Regions from separate parts of the Homo sapiens genome. Here regions 2 and 3 are each linked to region 1. The links are contacts of gene promoters, found by promoter capture Hi-C in blood cells and fetal thymus (Javierre and others, 2016). All regions are on one chromosome and are shown on one strand. The core of a region is centred on a gene start or on the middle of the fragment in contact, and the rest is flanking DNA. Distances in the headings are between cores, read along the strand shown. Region 1 has its middle 2.3 kb from the start of ARHGEF16. Region 2 holds the start of LRRC47 (leucine rich repeat containing 47). Region 3 holds the start of TP73-AS2 (TP73 antisense RNA 2).

What was found. The method cuts DNA at HindIII sites, captures the fragments that hold promoters and counts their contacts. A CHiCAGO score of 5 or more calls a contact.
Region 2: a contact is called between the fragment with the promoter of LRRC47 here and a fragment that was not itself captured in region 1, in 1 of 17 cell types (total CD8 T cells). The highest score is 6.8, in total CD8 T cells.
Region 3: the fragment with the promoter of TP73-AS2 here is called in contact with a fragment that was not itself captured in region 1 in 9 of 17 cell types (non-activated CD4 T cells, total CD4 T cells, naive CD4 T cells and 6 more); the score reaches 11.9 in non-activated CD4 T cells.

Annotation. Positions count from the first base shown.
Region 1 is chr1:3,450,263-3,454,523 of GRCh38, forward strand. No RefSeq gene overlaps it. Among named protein-coding and RNA genes, the nearest start is that of ARHGEF16, 2.3 kb to the right of the region's middle. RefSeq lists an enhancer at 2,485-3,237. The HindIII fragment of the contact is 157 bases long and covers 2,209-2,365 here.
Region 2 is chr1:3,794,339-3,798,599 of GRCh38, forward strand. LRRC47 (leucine rich repeat containing 47) reads right to left here and starts at 2,160. Exons shown (of 7, transcript NM_020710.3): 1 at 1,524-2,160. The coding sequence starts at 2,138. RefSeq lists a silencer at 1,722-1,931 and an enhancer at 2,047-2,341. The HindIII fragment of the contact is 14,897 bases long and covers 1-4,261 here.
Region 3 is chr1:3,712,322-3,716,582 of GRCh38, forward strand. TP73-AS2 (TP73 antisense RNA 2) reads right to left here and starts at 1,977. Exons shown (of 2, transcript NR_185884.1): 1 at 1,866-1,977; 2 at 1-117. All of the region lies in intron 4 of TP73 (tumor protein p73), which reads left to right. RefSeq lists a silencer at 2,273-2,512. The HindIII fragment of the contact is 47,283 bases long and covers 1-4,261 here.

The DNA of each region.
Region 1 (4,261 bases), core at 1,037-3,536:
CCTTCCCAAGTGCTGGGATTACAGGCATGCGGCACCATGCCCAGCTGATCCTTTGGGGTATTTTTGATTGTTGTTTTAAATGCCTTCTCTGCGAATCCTGTCATCCGTGTCATTTCTGGGTCTGCTTCTACTGACTGATTTTTTTCCTAGTTATTTGTCACAGGTTCCTGTTCCTGCTTCTTCACATGTCTAGTAATTTTGCATTGGGTGCTGGAGGTCGTAAATGTGTAATTTTGCATTGGGTGCTGGAGGTCGTAAATGTGTAATTTTGCATTGGGTGCTGGAGGTCGTAAATGTGTAATTTTGCATTGGGTGCTGGAGGTTGTAAATGTGTAATTTTGCATTGGGTGCTGGAGGTCGTAAATGTCAAATTGTTTGAGTTTCTGGATTTTACTGGCCTTCTTTTCAAGCATGTTGAGTGTTATGCTGATGCACAGTTAACGTACTTGTGGATCAGCCTGGTCCTCTCAGGACTTGCTTTGAACTTCTGTTAGGTCATGTCTAGAGGAGCTGTCACCCTAGGATTACTTCAGCCCTTCACCTAGGACATGGCCTTCTTTGGTATCTACTGAATATTCTGGGTGGTCAGGATTTTTTCCCTCTGTCCCTGGTTTTCAGCCATTTCATTATGAGGTACTGTGGTGGGGTCTGCTTTGTACGTATGCTGCTTTGACTTCTTTGGACTTATTCTCCATTGCTTTGAGGTTCTTGGATCTGTGGATCTACAAGTTTTTATCACATTTGGAAATTTTTCAGACATTCTTTTTTTGAGACAGAGTCTTGGTACAGTGGCTGGAGTACACTGGCTCGATCATAGCTCACTGGAGACTCGTCCTCCCCAGGCTCAAGCGATCCTCCCACCTCAGACTCCCAAGCGGCTGAGGTCAACGAGGGATAGTCAGCGACGGTGCTTCCTTCCTGGTGGCTGACGTTCCAGCGTCCCCTGGCCTGGTATGAACTCTGGTGTCACTCTGCTCACAGAGCTCCCTGGTCGCTGTTGGTCCCTGGCTTCATGGGATCTTACTCTGCTTATGCACAGTTCAGTATTCAGCCAAAGGCTCAAGTGGACCCCTGTGGGGATTTTGGGGGCTCCACTACGTCGCTGCCTTCTCTCCAGGACTCTTTCGGGGCTCCCCTGCACTGCTGCCTTCTCTCCAGGACTCTCTCCATAGTCCTTGGCCTCCTTGGCTCCCCAACTCTGTCCCCTGTAGCCCAGTGAGGCCACCAGCCTCTCTTGGCCAAAGGCTTATTTACCTCTTTCTCCAGGAATTTCTGTCTCTGCACCTGTTGTCCAGTGTTAGAAAGAGTTGTTTCTCGTATTTTTTGTTCCATGTTTGAGTTGTTTGTGGTGACAGACAAGTCTGGTACCGACTACTTCGTCATGGCCAAAACACCTGACATGTTTTAAATTCTCAATTTGGGGAAGATACATGGGGTTGCTTTTATATATTTTTATATAAAAATATAAATACTATATGCATGTCTTTGTAAACCAGAAATGGTCCCTAATGATGACTAGGGATCCTGGGCTTTGGCGTCAGACAGACCTGGGCTCTAACTGTGGCTGGGCCACTTACCAGCCAGGTAACAAGGGGCAAAACATTTCTCCTCTCAGTTAAGCGGGGGGCATCTGAGGGGCTTTCTGTAAGAATTCACTAAGATGACGCGTGCAAGGCCCCCAGCATGAGGCTGGCACATAGTAGGTGCTTAATGGGAAGTAATGACCTGCTATTTTAGGGTACAAGGAGGAGGGGCATTTGCTCCTCAAACCCAACCTTCTTCCCACCAGCCCGGCCCCCCCAGCCATGGGCCTCCACCCACCCAGCAGAGGCGTCTCTGTCCTCCATCCCACTCACAGCCGCGCCCTTGGGGCCCTTTCCCAGCTGCCTACGGGCTGGAGAGGACACCCATGGAACTGCAGTGGGTAACAGGGCAGCCCAGCGTTGAGGGCCTGAGAACTGAGGGCTGTCATGGCCTTCCCTCCACCCCGTGTGCTCCTTAGGGCCCCAGGGAGGGAGGGGAGCAGGTGGGAGCACCGCCCACTCGGCCTGGCAGGGAGGACAAACCTGCCCAGCAGCCTCAGCTCACCCTCAGCCCTGGACACCTACCCTGGAAGGTCGAGCCAAAAGGCCTCCCGAGGGGCTGCTGGCCTCAGGTACCACCTAAGGCTACGGGCTGTCTGTGCTGTGGCCCCAGTGGCTGAGTAAAAGCTTGGAAAACTCAAAGCAAGGCCCGCAGGAGCTCAGGCCACCTCAAGCCGCAGGAAAGGAGCTCTGCTCCCGCAGATAGAGGTGTGCTTTCTGGCTGGCACACTGGTGCTCGGCCAGAGCGCTGCCCACCCTACAGCAATGCACAGTGGCTGTTAAGCTTGGGGGATCCACATCTTCTCCCCTGCCAGTAATGTGGGAGGGGAAGGCCCCCAGGGCAGGCTGAGCCACAGGCTCGGGATCCCACCACAGAGGTGCAGGAAGTGCCACGGGCCGACCCCACTGGCAGGCCTCCCACTGGCAGGCCTCCCCGGAGTCTCTCTCTCCTTGCGAGCCCCTTAGGTCTCCAAGCTGGTTCCTTCCAACCTCTCCCTTAGGCCTCATGCCAGGGCGATCTCCTGCGCCAGCATCAGGCCCTCATTTACAGCAGAGGTGACAGAGGCACAGAGAGGTCCTGACGCCAGCTCAGGTGACATCCCCAGCAAAGGGACCATCCCAAGCACACGCTGAGTGGCCTCTGGAAGCCAGCAGGACATGGGGAGACGAAGCCAGACCCAGGGTGGCTGAACGGGCCCAGCAGGGGCTGGACAGAAGGTGTGGGGTTGGGGGTAACTTGGAGGCAGCTACTGAAAGAGGGTTTTACAGGAAAGCACTCAGTGGGAATCAGGAACCTGGGTCCTGCTGACTGGCCTGGGGCAAGGCTTCTGTCCCCTCACTGGGCCTCAGTGACCCCACCGCACCTCAGTCCCCTCACGGGTCAAGGCTCCGGGACACCCCAGCTCCCTCCGGCAGGCCGGGCCTCGTCGGTGCAGTACCCATCATGGACTCAGGAGGGCAGCAGCCACCTGCCTTTCCCAAGAGCTGCCTGGAAGTGGAACCTCCCCACAGGCGGCTCCAGGTGGAGGCTGCAGCCCACAGGGGTCAACTCTTAGCTCCTCCCTCATCCACCCTCCCTCCCAGGGGATGGATGGCCCACGGGACCCATCCCTGAGGCCAGCCTGTGCCCTGCCCAGATGGCACCTGACACCCAGGCAGCCCCAGCCACAGGGCAGACATTGGGGGACTAGTGGGTGGGGCGACCAGAGCAGGAGGGGCAGGGCAGGCCGCCCCTCTACCTATGACACCTGAGAAAATGCCAAGTGACAGCCCCAGAGCCTGTGGTGTCTCCTCAACCCGCAACGGGATCTCACGGCCGCCCAGGCCAGGGAGGCAGGTCCTGGGAGGAGGGTGGTCAGTGCCTCTGGCTGGCACACCGGTGCCCGGCCCACGACCCCAAGGCCTGGGGTCAGTGAGGGGACGCTGGTAGAAGCTGACCCAAAGCCCAGTGTGGATGTTCACATGGAGGCCTTTGGCAACAGGCCTTTCCTGAAAAGGGGATGATGGAGGCAGGTCAGAAGTGGGTCTGAGCCCTGGGACCTCAGGTCACATTCCTGAATGGCCAGGCCCAAGCTTGGGAGGCTTGGCTCAGCCCCCAGCCCCTCCCACAGCACCAGGTGGCCTGATTCCTGAACCCCCAGCTGGGGGGCTGCTGCAGCCTCTGCCCGGGGCCCTCCCTCACTTTCACACGGGTTCCCAGCAGGCGGAGCAAGGAAAGGCCAGGCTCGGAGTCCAGGCTCAGCCTTGTGCACGAGGGCGAGCGCCTTCCTTTCCAGGACTCGGTCCTTCTCTGTGAAATGGGGATGACCGCGACTCAACCACACCAAAAAGGTGGCCAGAGTGCTTTGCGCCCTCTTGGCTGTCTTTGGCCGCCTGGCTTCCAAGAATCCAGAGGGCCGGGCCTTTCTACAGCAAACATCGGTCCCCGCAGGGCTGGTCTCCTTCCCCGAAGGCTTCCTGGAGGAGGCAGTGGAGCGGGGCCTGGAAGGACAGTGACGCAGGAGGGAGCCGAGCCGCTCTGGCCCCACGCCTGGCAGGCGACTCCCGGGCCGGCCTCGAGGGGGCGTGGGCGCGGGGAGGGAAGGCGCAGGCACCGGGCGGCGGCGGCTCGGCGGGAATCGAGAGGCGCGATCCAGTCCGGGCGATCACGTGGGCTCCAGCCGGCCCAGGTGGGGCTG
Region 2 (4,261 bases), core at 910-3,409, 340 kb after region 1:
ATCAGTAACCATGTGTCACTCTACAGTGGGTTTGTTTTTTTTGCCACAGGGTCTCGCTCTGTTCAGGCTGGTATCACAGCTCACTGCAACCTCCACTTCCTGGGCTCAAGTGATCCTCCCACCTCAGCCTCCCGAGTAGCTGGGACTACAGGCACGCGCCACCAGGCCCAGCTAATTTTTGTATTTTTGTAGAGATGGGGTTTCACCATGTTGGCCAGGCTGGTGGTGTGACCTCAAGCGATCTGCCCGCCTCAGCTTCCCAAAGTGCTGGGATTACAGGTGTGAGCCACCGCGCCCGGCCAGGGTTTGTCTATATATCCTTATATAGATATGTTACTTGTAAAATGAGTTGCAATGTCTTGAGGAATTGCTACAGCAAATAAATAGATAAGCTGCTAAAGTGTATACGTATTTTATTAAGAAATGTCCACATAGGCCAGGCGCGGTGGCTCACACCTGTAATCCTAGCACTTTGGAAGGCCGAGACAGGCGGATCACATGAGGTCAGGAGTTCGAGACCAGCCTGACCAACACAGTGAAACCCGTCTCTACTAAAAACACAAAAGTTAGCCGGGCGTGGTGGTGTGCGCCTGTAAGCCCAGCTACTCAGGAGGCTGAGGCAGAAGAACCGCTTGAACCCGGGAGGCGGAGGTTGAAGTGAGCCGAGATCGCGCCACTGCACTCCAGCCTGGGTGACAGGACCAGACTACATCTCAAAAAAAAAAAAAAAAAAAAGAAATGTCTGCATAAATTCAAAGACGAAAAATGGGGGAAGAAATGCAGGACTGCCTTAAGGATGAAACCAAAAGAGAAGATGGAGAGAACATCTGGCTGGGTTTAGGTCGTGGTTCTGCCATGTGGCTTCCCTACTTTCTTTTAGGCAACAGATTCAATGGGCACCTGTTATAGGCCAAGCATTATCGCGGGGCCTGGGGATCCAAGATTAATTAGTAAACAGACGCTGGACAATATAGTCTGGAGAAAAACCCAAGTTACCTGCTGCTTACTTTGGGCAGGCCCTTTGGCTTTCTGTAAAACAGGAATAACCACCCCTACCTTGGAAAGCTGCTATTAGGATGAAGTGAAATATAATCTTCAAGATCACAGCATGTGGCATTATGCAAAATCCAGGGTGCCCCCTTCACCACCAGACTCACTCTCAAGTCACTTCACAAGTACTAGATACAAAAAAGACAGGTCTCTACGCTCGATCTACAGGAGAAGCCAGGTTTGCTAACAATTACAAAATAGCGTACCACGTGTAAAAGTCCAGTTAACAGAATGCGGGGGAGTTCAGAGGCCACCTAGTATGTTGGTGTGGCCAGGAGAAGGGGGAGTTGGAAGGCGGCATCTGCTTCCCAGGGGTGATGCCCCCCGCAGCTGGCTCCTTTCAGCCTTGTAGGAATTCCCTGGGCCCAGTGCCCCAGGGGGCGTCACTAGGAACTGCTCGGCCCCGAGAGGGGTTCCTTCTCCAGGGCTACTCCAAGGCCCCATCCCGCCCCGCCCGGGCAGCCCCCGCTGACCTTGAGCGAGGCCAGGTGGGCGATGTCGGGGCTGAGTTCTCGGAGGCAGTTGTCAGCAGCCGCCAGTTCACTGAGCAGGGGCAGCGCGCCGGGGCGAAAGAGCTCGGCGGGAAAGGAGTCTAGGCAATTGCCGGTGAGGTTGAGGCTCTGCAGGCGCGGGGCGCAGCGCGCCAGGTCGGCTGGCAGCTCGCGCAGCCGGTTGCCGCTGAGGTTGAGGCTCTGCAGCTGCGGAAGGCCCGGCGGCTCGGCGGGGCCCAGGCCTTGGCCCGGCGGCAGCGCCTCCAGCGCGTTGCCCGACAGGTCGAGCACCCGAAGGGCAGGCAGCGGCCCGAGCTCGGGGCTCAGGCCGGGCCCCAGCGCGTTGCGCCGCAGCACGAGGCTGTGCAGCTGCGGCAGGCCCTGCGCCAGGCCAGGCCCCGGCGCGCGCAAGCTCCCGCAGCCGCTCACTTCCAAGTAGTGCAGCAGCGGCAGGGTGAAAAGCCGCGGCGGCAGCTGCCCACCCGCCGCCCGCACTCGCTCCTCCAGCCCGGGCCCCGTCAGCAGCAGCTCCCGCCGCCGCTCGCGCTCAGCCAGCTCCAGCTCCGGCCAAGACTCTGACACCGCTGCCGCCGCCATGGCGCCTCAGCTGCTGGCAGGCACCCACCCACCAGGGTGCTTCCGGGGCAGCGCGCGCCACTTCCGACCTGTGCCGGAAAAGCCCATAGAGAAGCCACCTGGCTGCTAGAGTGCCGCCGCGCGTGCCATAGAGGAGAGTGGCCTCTCCTGCGTAGAGCCGGGGAGGGGCTGGAGAGCGGCTCGCTCTCTCCGCGGGTAGGGGTGAGGGTGGGGGTTATGAACCCAAAAATATCTGAGACAGGACTCAATGAAATGTAAAAAGTTTATTTTGCCAAGGTTAAGGACACGCCAGTGTCACAACCCTAGGAGATCGTGACGATGGTGCCCAGGGAAGTTGGGATGCAGCTTGGTTTTGTACATTTTGGGGAGACGTGAGACATCAATCAACACGTGCGAGTGTACCTTGGTTCAGCCCAGAAAGGCTGGACAATTCCAGGAGAGGGCTTTCAGGTCACAGGTAGAGAAGAGACCGGAGGGTGCATTCTTTTGAGTCTTTGTTCAGCCTTTCGCTGACTGCACAATTTATTATGCATGTGAGACGCGGGTAGAGGAATAGTCGCTTATGCTTTAGTCTGGCTTACTGAATCTTCATTTCTACGTAAACAGTAGAGCAAAGGAAGCGATCAGATATGCATTTGTCTAGGTGAGCAGAGGGATGGCTTTGAGTTCAGTCCTTTGTCTCGCACCTGTGAAGGGAAGCTATCAATTTGCATTGCCAGGGTGAAATTCAACAGAACTGTTTTAGGGTAAAGATCTTGAGGCCCACAGAGAATTTCTTTGTGGGCAAATTGTGAGGGAGGTGTGTAGCTTTAAAAATATGTATTTGTAACTATCTTATTTAGGAATAAGACGGGAGGCCGATTTGCCCGAAGCAGTTCCCAGCTTGACTTTTTCCTTTGACTTAGTGATTGTGGGGTTTTGAGATTTATTTTCCTTTCACAGGGTGGGGTGCGGGCGGATGGAGGAGCCAGAGTCTGTGCTCTACTGTGCCCCGACCGGCTTGTTTTGGAATTCCTGCACTTTTGAGTGGTGTAAACCAAAACCAAAATTCTTTTTTTTTTCTTGAGACGGAGTCTCGCTCTGTCACCCAGGCTGGAGTGCAGTGATGCTATCTTGGTTCACTGCAACCTCCGCCTCCTGGGTTCAAGCAATTCTCCTGCCTCAGCCTCCCGCTGGAACTACAGGTGCATGCCACCGTGGCCGGTTAATTTTTATATTAACCGTGTTAATATAATTTTTATATTAACCGGTTTTCGCCATGTTGGCCAGGCTGGTCTCGAACACCTGACCTCAGGTGATCTGCTCGCCTCAGCCCCCCAAAGTGCTGGGCTCACAGGCACAAGCCACCGCACCCAGCCCCCAAATTCTTATTTATTTATTTATTTATTTATTGAGACAGAGTCTTGCTCTGTTACCCAGGCTGGAGTGCAGTGGTTCCAGCTCGGCTCATTGCAGCCTCAACTTCCCTGGCTCCAGTGATCCTCCCACCTCAGCCCCTGAGTAGCTGGTACCACAGGCATGTGCCACCACGCCTGGCTAATTTTTGTATTTTTTGTAGAGCTGGGGTTTTGCCATGTTGCCTAGGCTGGTCTCAAACCCATGAACTCAAGCAATCCACCTGCCTCAACCTCCCAAATTGCTAGGATTACAGGTGTGAGTCACCAAACCTGGCCAAAAAATAAAATTCTAGAGGCTGGGCACGGTGGCTCATGCCTGTAATCCCAGCACTTTGGAAGGCCGAGGCGGGCGGATCACCAGGTCAGGAGATCGAGACCATCCTGGTGAACACGGTGAAACCCCGTCTCTACTAAAAATACAAAAAAAATTAGCCGGGCTTGGTGGCAGGCGCCTGTAGTCCCAGCTACTCGGGAGGCTGAGGCAGGAGAATGGCAAGAACCCAGAGGGCGGAGCTTGCAGTGAGCGGAGATTGCGCCACTGCACTCCAGCCTGGGCGACAGAGTGAGACTCCGTCTCAAAATAAATAAATAAAAATAAAATAAAATTCTAAGCCCCCCAACCATCTGAGTGGACCCCTCCTCTGGGCCAAGGGCATTCCCTAGTTAATCTGAAAAACTAGTTCAGGCCATGATGGGAAGGGTCGGATGTGGAGGGGTAGGGGTTGG
Region 3 (4,261 bases), core at 727-3,226, 260 kb after region 1:
GAGCTTCCAGCAGGCCTGCTCTGGCTGTGGTCAGCGCCTCGGGGCTCGTGGCCCGAGCCGGGGTTGGCTCTTCTCTCTTCACTTTCTGGAGCAGCCAGAGGAACTCACTCTTGGGCCCTGGAGGTCACAGAACTTAGCCTTGGAGGCCCCAAGTGAGGCTGGGGAGGCCCCAGCTCTGAGACCCTGGGTCCTGCTGCCCCACCCCACACTGCCTGGTTCTTGGAGGAGACAGGAGGGAGAACCCCTTGGGGGACAGGATTCCCTTCCATAGGCATGAGACTGTTGGGGGAGAGGCATGATCCAATTTACGTTTTAGGAAGAATCATCTATTTTCTAGGACTTCTTTCCAGTTTGGGGACAGCCCTGTGGACCCAGCATGTCTGATTAGTAGCGTTGGCAGCAGCATTGCCCCTATGTGCAGGGCCTCCCACACTCCCCATTTTACAGATGAGGAAACTGAGGCTCCCAGAGGGCACACCAGGGTCACCTGTCAGCAGAGGGCAGAGCCGGACCTGGCCCCAGCAGCCAGACCCCTAACCTTGCCCTTGCAGCCCGTGTGGTGCCCCACCCCGGCCCCTACAGGTCCCTGGACAGGTCCCCACGAGCAGCCCCTGCCCCCTGCCCCACCCTCTGCTCCCAGCTCTGTGGGGCAGGTCCCTGTGACCCTCAGGGCCCCCAGGGGAACCAGTGATAAGGAGGTGCTGACACCTCAGAGGGACCTGCCTGTCCCTAGGGGAGAAAGCCTTGGACCGAATGGGGTGTGGGGGGAGCCCAGGCTGTACCTTGGCCCCCATGAGCCTTCCACTGCTGTCTGCCAGTGAATCAAACTGGGACTGGGGGTGGAGAGCTGTCCCTGTCTGCTTTCACTGCTTGGTTTTGTTGACAAAGGAAAATCCCTCAAGAACGCTTTATCACTGGAGTGCTCCGAGGCTGGCGAGCCTCATGGGCGAGAAGCCAGGCAGCTGGGCTTGGGGACCGGCCTCTCCTGGTGCCTCCCTGCCCCCTCTGCCTTCACCCCTCCCAGGCCTGGCCTCACTGCCACTAACTCCCGTTGACAGGGGGAAAGAGAGGCCCACAGGGGAGGGCCGTCCCAGGCTTCTCCTGGACCCAGTGCTGACGCCAAGATGCGGTCGTAGGTGACCTGGACCTTGGGCCGTGTGGGACTCGGGGCAAGGTGGGGGGCTCAGCTGGGCAGTGAGTTAGTTTTGCTTCCCGGTCTGGTGGGTTTCTGCCACCCCAGGCCAGTGGTCACTTCTGGGATTTTCTGAGATTCCAAAAGTTGAAGCCACGGACCCTGGAGACCCGGACCCTGGAGGCCCAGCCCCTGCCTCTGGGTAGAGAAGGCCCTGAGCGACCTCCAGACCTTCTGTCCCTTTTCCGAGGAGCCTCAGGAAGAGGGGGACAGACAATTCCAGGGTGTCCCGGCTGGAAAGAAAAGCATCTTCTCTGCACTCCAGGCGGACAGCGTGAGGCTCAGAGATTACGTGGCGGCCGAGGCTGGTGTCCACAGCCAGGGGTTACGATGGGGCTGCAGAGGCCGTGAGCGGAACAGGGCATTTTAGGGCAGAAAGACCCTTTTGGAGAAGGTAACAGCACTCCAGGCTTCAGTGAGGCAGAAGTCAGAGCCCATGGGGAAACCGCACAGGGGGATTACCTAAAGCCCAGAGCCACCCCAAGGGTTGCAAACCCACCCCTCCCCCAGCCATGCCACTGGAGCGAGGCACCCAGCTCCTTGCACCTGGCGTTGGGGAGACACCACTCTCTGCAGGGGTCAGAGATTCGGAGGCCAAAATTCTCCTTCCCCCAGGCATTTCAATGAAGATTTACAAAGTTTAGCAAAAACCTAGATTCTAGCCAACTATTACCTTAAAAGCTGAAGAGGGACCACCCCACCATGTCCACAGCTTACTCCCCTCCCTCCGCTGTCTCCGGCCACCTCCAGCTGCTGCCAATTCCAGCCCCCAAGGCTGTCCCAGGAAGCTGTGGCCAGAGACTCCGGGACTGTCCTGTGAGCAGAGGGCACCCACTGACCCTGGGGCACCCTTCCAATCCCCACAGCTGACAAAGCCGGGCCTCAAAAGGCTGGGTTAATCCTGGCTTCTCCTCAAAGCCACCAGTCAGGGTGGGGGTGAGGATGGTGGGGGCAAGGATGGTGGGGGCTTCCTCCCCAGGAGTTAAGGGGCCCTCTCTGCAGTGAGCAGAGCAGGCCTGTTGCCAGCCTGCTGGGCCCCTCGTGGGACAGCTCCAGGGCCTGGCCCACAGTCCCGCTAGCTAGGTCCTTGCCAGAGGCCGGAGGAGAGGCCAGGCTACTGGCAACGGGCCCTCCAGCTGGCGCTGTCAAAAAGCAAGTTGCGGGCAGAGGACCCTGCGCTTGGTCCCGGCCCAGGGCAGAGGCTGAGTGTGGTGCTTTGAACACTCTGTGTCTTCAGAGCGGAGGGGCAGCTGCTGGTGGGCATTCCGGGGCCCTCTGCAAGCCCCAGCTTTTGTCTCTGCGGACCCAGGGCACTGCCCTGCCACCCCCTCTGTCCCCAAGGCCCCAGATGGGGTACCTGGGTCCTGGAATAAGAGCAGATGGAGTTCCTCGCCCTGCCTGGGCAGCTCATTCCTTCCCGGGCTTGGGCAGAGTGACAGTGATAGTAGCAGCCACAGGGCACCCGCACGCGGTCTCAGTGAATCAGGACAGCGGCGACCGGGTGGGGACTGGGCCCTGAGCTCCTCACACAGCATCTCGGCAGCAAAGTGGAGGCTGGAGCTGTCCAGGCTGGGCCACCCAATCCCAGCCAGACACAAGGCAGTCTGTGTGAGTCTCAGTCTCTATTGTCCATGGAGACCCATCCCCAGCAGGACCAGGGCAGGTGAGGCCCCTGGCTGTTGTTCCCCTTACCCCTAAGGGGCTTAAGTCCAGCCACGGGGTAAGAAGCCCATGTCCCACCTGACACCTCTGTAGTACCGTCTTTCTGGAACCCGGGGTGACGCCTCTGCAGTGCCCAGTCTTCCTGGAACCCAGGGGTGACGCCTCTGCAGTGCCGTCTTCCTGGAACCCAGGGGTGCTTAAGGCGGGTCTCTGCCTAGACCCCGACCCCAGGCCCCAGGACCCAAGTCAAGCCCAGCAGTGACAAAGGGCTGGGAGATGGAGCTTGGGGGTCAGACAGCTATGGTCTGGGTGCTGGTCCACCCCAGCTTAGCAGGCAGGTTTGGGTCACTAAACGGAGTGACAGTGCCTGACCTCCCAGGGCCAAGGTCAGGTGAGGGCCCCGCGCAGGGCAGGCACCAGTGGGCAGTGGATGTGGCCATGAGGGTGGACCCAGGTGCCCCATTCCCTGGCAGGTGGACAGCACTCACTGTCTCCCCAGGTCTCCACACCAACAGAGGCAGACACCTTGGGCAAACGCTGCCTCGCAGCCTCCCCCAACACTAGGCCCCTCTTATCTCCTCTGCCTGTGGCCCTCGTCTCCTACTGGACCCCTGGGCCTTCACTATGCACTGGAGACAAAGCCACCAAGTCTATCCTGGGCTCAGCACATACCTGCTTCCCTCCCCTACCCCGATCATAGCCCAGGATGGAGATCCCTAGAGGCAGCCGTGCATGGGACGAGGATCGAGCAGGCTCCAGCTCCTGTGGTCTGGGTGCACTCAGTGTCTCCCAGGGAGCCGCGCTTCCAGGCCGTTGAGAGTCCCCCGTGTGGCTCCTGCTCACCTGTTTAGGACATGGCTCAAGGTCGTGGTGGGGCAGACTGCCCAGCTCCTCAGGGTTCCCACTTGCCCCTGGCCTGCCCTCCCCAGTGAGCAGTTTCTTGTCCACAGCCTCTGGGGCTCTAGCAGGCCTCCGTCAGGGCTGAGGATCGCTTGGCATCTGCAGAGGATGTTTCTGCCTCTGGTTCATCCTCCATAGAGCTCCTGGCCTGGGAGCCCCGGCTGGCCAGCATGGGGGTGCCAGCAGACACATCTGTCTCCTGCAGCCCCCCCAGCCAGGAGCTCTTTCACAGCAGCCTCTTTTCTTGGGCAGCGCTGGGCCTGGCACTGGCTGTGGCCTCACAGGCATTCTGAAGCTCGCTTGGGCCTCTCATCTGCCTGGCCCATGGGCTGTGGATGTCCTGGTGAGTGAGCCGTCACTGCCTCGACCATGGGAGCCCCAGCTTAACACCAAGGTGTTCTGAAACAGGGGCGATTGCCACATGTGTCCTTTCCCCCTCCCCAGGCTAGTGGCTTCCCTGGGGCAGGGAGGGACCAGCCCTGTGACATCCTGCCAGGCCTCCCTGAC